2 separate regions of the Homo sapiens genome follow, and region 2 is linked to region 1. Evidence: promoter capture Hi-C in 16 types of primary human blood cells and fetal thymus (Javierre and others, 2016). All regions are on one chromosome and are shown on one strand. The core of a region is centred on a gene start or on the middle of the fragment in contact, and the rest is flanking DNA. Distances in the headings are between cores, read along the strand shown.

Evidence for each region. Contacts are between HindIII fragments. The CHiCAGO score rates a contact against its expected background, and 5 or more counts as called.
Region 2: a contact is called between a fragment that was not itself captured here and the fragment with the promoter of LDLRAP1 in region 1, in 1 of 17 cell types (total CD4 T cells). The highest score is 5.5, in total CD4 T cells.

Annotation. Positions count from the first base shown.
Region 1 is chr1:25,541,784-25,545,242 of GRCh38, forward strand. LDLRAP1 (low density lipoprotein receptor adaptor protein 1) reads left to right here and starts at 1,823. Exons shown (of 9, transcript NM_015627.3): 1 at 1,823-2,003. The coding sequence starts at 1,916. RefSeq lists an enhancer at 1,493-1,552 and silencers at 1,653-2,112, 2,143-2,322. The HindIII fragment of the contact is 5,608 bases long and covers 879-3,459 here.
Region 2 is chr1:25,834,832-25,838,562 of GRCh38, forward strand. AUNIP (aurora kinase A and ninein interacting protein) reads right to left here. Exons shown (of 3, transcript NM_024037.3): 2 at 2,582-2,723; 3 at 1-1,015. The coding sequence ends at 162. Among named protein-coding and RNA genes, the nearest start is that of MTFR1L, 17 kb to the left of the region's middle. The HindIII fragment of the contact is 4,616 bases long and covers 150-3,731 here.

The DNA of each region.
Region 1 (3,459 bases), core at 573-3,072:
TCACAACCACCAGAAGGACAGCTGGGTTCTAACCCCTGGCATTATACTCTACCCCATTGCCTATGGGCCTGAGTCTGATCCCAGTCTCTGACTCTCGGAGACTATCAGTGAATGCTTCCCTCCCTGACCTAGGGCTGTCATCTGTAAAGTGGGTCCACCTAAGCAGTGTTGCTGGGGAAGCCAAGGACAGACTGGCTAACAAAGCACTTGGTTTATAAACAGGGGAATGTCAGTGAGGCCGCCCTATCCAGCTGGGGACAGCACAGCACTATCTTTCTCCCGACACAGAGAGGACTGCTGGCTTCTGAGCCAGGAGTAATTACAGAGGTTGAAGTTGGCCTTGCCTGAGGCACCCCCTTCTAAAAGAAGCCAGGCTGTGGCTTGGATGTGTGTGTCCTCCCTCTGGCTCCTTTTGGCACAGTTTGAAAGGAAGGCATGGCATCCTAGAGAGTTAGAACAAATCCTTCCAATCCTGGAGTTAGAACATCTGTGCCTGAGCAATTCTGGGGTTCAGACTGCCCTCCGAATGCTCCTAGGAAGCAGCTTGGGGTCAGGGTCAAGGTCATGCAGATTCTTGACCCTGGCAGGTTGGAAGGATCACTAGAGATAGCATTGACTCTCATTCACAGATAAACAAGACTCAGAGAGGGGAAGTACTTGCCTGAGGTCACACAGCAAGTCAGTGTCAGGGGCACGTTCCAGATCATACCATCTGTGAGGCTACCTGGGAAGTTGCGGGGGCATGGGGTGGCCCAGCATGCTCAGGTGGTGCCAGGGAGCAGCCTGGGAGCTACGAGGATGAGTAAAGTGCCTGGCTGGACTTGCTAAAGGCAAATTTTTATATACCGACCCTGCGCCTAACAAGGGTCTATACTGCAAGCTTGTCCAACCTGTGGCCCACTGGCCATGTGAGGTCCAGGACGGCTTTGAATGGAGCCCAACACAAATTGGTAAAGGTTCTTAAAACATTATGAGATTTTTTTGGGCAGGGTGTGGTGGCTCACAGCCATCCCAGCACTTTGGGAGGCTGAGGCGGGCAGATCACTTGAGGTCAGGAGTTCGAGACCAGCCTGGCCAACATGGTAAAACTCCATCTCTATTAATAATACAAAAATTAGCCAGGCATGGTGGTGCATGCCTGTAATCCCAGCTACTCGGGAGGCTGAGGCATGAGAATAGCTTGAACCCGGGAGGTAGAGGTTGCAGTGACCCGAGATCGCACCACTGCACTCCAACCTGGGCAACAGAGTGAAACTCTGTCTCAGGGGAAAAAAAACAATACAGAAAAACAAAAAACATGAGTGTGTGTGTATATATATATATTTCAGCTCATCAGCTGTCGTTAGTGTTAGTGTATTTCATGTGTGGCCCAAGACACTTCTTCTTCCAATGTGGCCTAAGGAAGCCAAAAGTTTGGATATCCCTGGCTTACAGCCTCCACTATTTCCTAAGTCTCCCACTGCCCTGGACATCGCATTGCTTTTGTCCCTGAACAAGATCTTTCACCACTGGAGGAGCCCTCAGTCTCCCCATCTGTAAAATGGTCACTGGAAATCCTAGGCCGCTGCTCTCAGGCCCTCAGGCCCCTACGGGGTGGGGATTGGGGAAAAGGAGGAAAGCGGGGGCGTCTAGGGCTTGCGATTTGCTATCTTCTGGCGCCTTCGGGCGGCCTCGGAAACTCTTGGTGCCTGGACCTGGAGCCTGGACAGGGACCGGGCGGGGCGAGACCGGCCGTCGGGGGCGCGGCCCGTCTGGGGGCGGGGCCTGTCCTCTCTCGCCCCGCCCCGTCGGACGCCGCGGCGGAGCTGGCGCTGGGAGGGGAGGAGCGCGCAGCCCGCGCGCCGCAGGGCCGGGCGGAAAGTTTTTCCTGACGGAGTTTTGGCTGCGGCAGCGGCGGCGGCGGCCGGAGCGGGCCATGGACGCGCTCAAGTCGGCGGGGCGGGCGCTGATCCGGAGCCCCAGCTTGGCCAAGCAGAGCTGGGGGGGCGGTGGCCGGCACCGCAGTGAGTGTGCGCGCGTCAGCCGGGCCGGGCCGGGATCGGGCAGAGGCGCGCGGGGCCTCCGCGGGCGCCCGGAGTGCGGCCAAGTTGGGCAGAGGCGGGGCCTCACCGGCGCTCCGGTCCCGGCGTGGCCCTTTCCCGGCCCTGCGGGGCAGGGGGTCGGCCGGGGTCAAGTTGTGCACCTACTCGCCGGCCGCTCGATGCCGCTGCGAGGAGGGGCAGCGCTGAGGAAGGAGCCCGAGCTCGGGGTCCTCAGGTGCAGCCGGCATGGGGTGGGGTGCAGGTTGGGAGAAGAGGCCCCCGCCACCCGCGGCACCTCCCGCCCTGCTGTCCTGGCCAGCTAGGGGGAGGCAGGCGCTCGTCGTCGGTGCCTAGGGGAGGAGGAGAGGGCGCAGGGGCTTGGGAAGACGCCCCCGTCCCGCACCCCTGCGCCCCAGCCAGCAGCTGCGGCGGTCAGGAGCCCACTGGCCCGTTCTCCCGCCCCCTGCCCGACCCACCGGGCCAACTTTTGACTCCGGGTGCCCAGACACCCATCCAGGTGTGAGCCCGGGGTCGCAGGTACGTACTTGAAATTGGGAACGAGGCCCCGCCTGGGGTGCCTCGGGAGAGCCCCACATCAGGCGATCTAGACCCTTACGTCCCTTCCTCTAGCCGGGTCCAGGTGGCAAGCCTGGCGTCCCGACTATTTTTGAAACCTGTTTTCTCTCGCACCTTTCCCCTCGGGCTTCCAGAGTCCCTTGGGTGCCCAGGCAAACGACAGACTCGCCGCCACCTCTCCCTGGGGCGTCTGGGAGGCTGGGAGGGGCCTCCCCCCCTTTCTCTCCCCCAGTCTCTGATTACGCTCAGGGAACTTGTCACCTGGCACCTTCCCCTGAAGCCAGAAGACCCAGCCTAGCGCAGGTCTCGTTGTTTGGGAGGGAGAAGAGAGTGGCTTGCCTGGGGTCACACACACCTTCCTGCTGGTTTTGGAGCCAGAGCCCAGGACTGCTGCACACTCCCACCTCCCTGCCACCTACTTCGGGCCACAGCTTCTCCCCTCATCAGGAAACAACTGACAGTACAGCACCCCCTCATCCCATCCCCTCTTGGCCTTACAGGGCTCTGCCAGGGGAGCCCGAGCTCCCTGGTCCAAGGAGTGCCAGCGTGTCTGGGCCTAGAGGGCCCGCCTCCCTCCTCCTCTGGCCCCACTCTGTTGTTCAGCTGTGGCCGCCTCCCAGCTGAGACTGGCATTGGCATTGGGAATGTGGGGTGGTGCCTGCTGGTGGGGGGTGGGGTCAGAGACCCATTAGGGCTGGGCCACTAGGCCAGGGGATGTACCGTTTATCACACTGATTGCATCCCAAAATAGACCCTTTAAAAACTGGCAAGATTTGACCAGGACTTCTGAGATGGCCATCTGTTCCAGTGGGAGAATCCTGCGGGTTTTCTCCAGGAATGAGGGAGGGAGGGTGGTGGGGCA
Region 2 (3,731 bases), core at 1,208-3,707, 290 kb after region 1:
TGGTACTGCCCTTTATTTACACAGAGAAGATGCTCAGTAATGACAACTTCATCCCATGCCACCTTCCCACCTAAACAAACTCACTCCTCTCTCCACCCACAACTATATTTTCCTACATCTCTATCATTTCAAGGTACTTTTAGAAACAAAGCTTCAAACATTTAGAATTGGTGTCTGATAACTTGATTACCTTCAGAGTCCTGGGTAAAGAGCAAATCAGGCTTCAGATTTTGAGTTGGCCCATCCTCCTGGCACTGAGCCCAAGGACTGTTAGGAAACGGCCCTAAGTCCCAATTCCAGTTATTGGTTACATCTTGAAAAGGAGCTCTAGTGTTGTGGGCAATGACCCGCTGGCCTTGAGAATCTTCAGTGAAAAGTTGACTCCAGGAGTCCTTGTCATTCTTTTCATTGTCCCAGGAAAACACAGAAACTGGACTACGGCTTTGTTTCACTGATTCTATGTTTTCTCCATTCCAGGATTCCCTGTATGTTTGAAGGAGGACAGGGGCCTGCCTGTTTTCTTTGGCAGACACCTTTCTTTCCAATTTAGTCTTGCCTAAGGGCTGACAGCATTTGTCCCCAGGTAGTTTGGTGTGTTTCTCCATACTCTGATAGTTCTTCTTAGACTCATGAAGCCATTCCCATTTCCTGGCAGAATCCCCTTTTTCTTCCTTTCGGTCTAGCAAACAAGAACTTTCCAAGTCCTCGGTGAAGGAAAAAGCCAGTGGGGTATGACTATCTCCAGCACAGTCTGGAGTATCAGGCTGGAGCAAAGATAGCTCAGTTGAAAATGGGGTTTTCATTCTGTGGTGGCCAGAAGTCTGGAGGGACTGAGGAGAGAGTCCAGCTTCCTGGATGTCTGCAGTGGTTGAAGTGGCTAAAGGGGATGCCATGCAATCGTGTGCTAAGCCTGGGATCAAATGGTCTAGCTGGGTCGCATTTTTCTTGGACTCTTTGTTGATCTGACTTTCTGTATGAGATGAAACACTCTTCTGGTCACTGCCATTTGTCTTTCCTAATAAAACAGGAATGAACAAATATTATTCTGCAGAAAAACTGCCCTAAGCAGGATTCAGTTGGCTTTTTCTGAAATCAGTATCAGCTACTATTACTACCTAGTGCAGGAGTCTTAAGACTCTTCACATAACTTTGTAGCCAATCTTCCTGTTTTCAATCTTGCCAGTCTATCATGAATAAACTCTAAAACATCAGATCTTATATTCCCTACTCAAATACATGGATACTTCCCATCACCTACCTAATAAAGTCAAACATCGCATACGATCAGACCATAGCCTACTTTACCAGCTGAGTTTTCATTTGTAGGTTTGTTTAACATACGGCACATCAGTTTTGCTTTTGTTTTTTATTTAATGTGGTTTTTTACTAAATGGTGATCCTGGTCAAATATACATTCCTAGACATTATCCTTAAAGAAACATGCTAAACACATACTAGTTTTGTAAGGTCTTAAAGATGACATTAACTATCCAACTCTGAGAAACCTTCTGGTGACAGTGTGAAAAACGTGGGTCCTCCACTCCCCAGGCATTTCATTGGAAAGGGAGTGAAGACACAATTAGGATGCTAAGTCAATCAGTAGGTAGAATAGTGAAACAACTACTAGTGTCCAGCCTGTTAATTTTATCAGGCATAGAGTGGATTCTGTTCTGCCTTAAGATAAGGATGGAGGACATGGAATTCCCAACTTGGCTCAAATTGTTCCAAGATCTAATTATAAAAACAAAGCAGAATAACTGATTTCCTCTTTCCTTCTACAATAAGAATTATACTGCAGAAACTAGGTTTTGTGAGAATTCTCAACTTTTCCTTAGCATTCAATATAGACTATAAAATACACCAGAATTTGTAAGTGGAAAAAGTGGGTTTTTTGTTTGTTTTTTTTAAATCTGCCCTTACATAAAGCAAAAGAGTGTACGTTTTTGTTTGGAGGAGGGAGAGGGCATTTTGAAGGTTTAGGCAAAGCAATCCTGAGAATCACACCCGGCATTAGAGCACTCTTCCCAACACCCTCCAAGTGGCAGGAACCCTGCTGTTTAAGGCCCAGCCTGCTCTGAGTCAGCTGCTCCCCTGAACAGGGACCTGGAAGCAAAGAACAGCCAAAGGAAGAGACATAAGCCAACTTTATGTGAGGCTAAGAAAAAGCATCTTTGAACCTTTCACTAATTTGAGAAGCGTCACACAAAAGTATCAATTATTAATTAACCTTAGACAGAGTACCCACTGTGGCCAACCCAAGATATATACCACCTAACTAATGGCAGGGCAACTCCCCAGTGCACCTCCAACTCCCAAGTACACCCTTCCTGACTGCTCTGTCAGCAAATACAAATATTTAATATTAAGCTGAGCAAAACAGAACCAGAAAAGTATGTTTGTAAAAGTACACATATATTGCTTTTCAAAAGGCAACAACTTATGTTTTATAACCTCTTCTAACAGGCTAAGTTTAACACAATGCACTGGTTTCACCATTTCTCATAAATGGTCTAACATGGACAAATGAACACACTCCTTTTTTGCTCTGGATAATGAAGTATTCCCATATGGGTCACCATACCTGGCTGCAAGGTGAAGAAGGAAGCAATGCTTCTCTGGTGAATGCCTGTAGATGGAGCTCTTCTTTGAGTAAAATAAATATTAGCCTTTCTTTCTCCAGGAAGGAGTGTTAGCATTTTGGTGCCTGGTTTGATTAAATGTGTCTGAGAAAGGAGAGAAAAAAGAATAATGAGCCTATTAATATTAAAAGACATACAGTAGAGATTCAGTACACACCAGTGATCCTCTGAGAACCACACTAGATCCTCTGTACTCCACTTATAGCCTATTCTCAAGGTAGTTGGTGCTGGACATCATCTTCCATTTCCAGCCATTGTAACGGTGTTTTTCTCAGGAATCACATATTCCAATGATAGCCCAATCTTTCTGCTTCCCCATGGAAATCAGGCTGACTAAACAAACAGGATTTGTTAACAGGATGGCAGAGATGATGCTCTTTTATATTTAAGGATAATTAATGATTCTACAGCAGCAGTTGATGCATTTTCAGTAGTTTTAAAGTAGTCACATAGTGGTGGTTAAGAGCATGGCTCAAGAATCAGTCCTTGGCCGGGCGCGGTGGCTCACGCCTGTAATCCCAGCACTTTGGGAGGCTGAGGCGGGCAGATAAGGAGGTCAGGAGTTCGAGACTAGCCTGACCAACATGGCGAAACCCCGTCTCTACTAAAAATACAAAAAAAAAAAAAAATCAGTCCTAGTTCTGCCACTGCCACTTTGCTATGTGACCTTCTCCAAGTTGCTTAATCTCATTCTTAGGTGTCAAATGACAATAATAGTACCTATCCATATGGCAGTTATGAAAATTTAGTAAGGCCAGGCGTGGTGGCTCACACCTGTAATCCCAACACTTTGGGAGGCCGAGGCGGGTGGATCACGAGGTCAGGAGTTCAAGACCAGCCTGGCCAATATGGTGAAACCCTGTCTCTACTAAAAATACAAAAATTAGCCAGGCGTGGTGGCAAGCGCCTGTAGCCCCAGCTACTTGGGAGGCTGAGGCAGAAGAATCGCTTTAACCAGGGAGGCGGAGGTTGCAATGAGCCGAGATTGTGCCACTGCACTCCAGCCTGGGCGACAGAGCAAGACTCCGTTTCAAAAAAAAAAAAGGAAAAAAGAAAATTTAGTAAATTTATTCACATAAAAGGCTTACACAG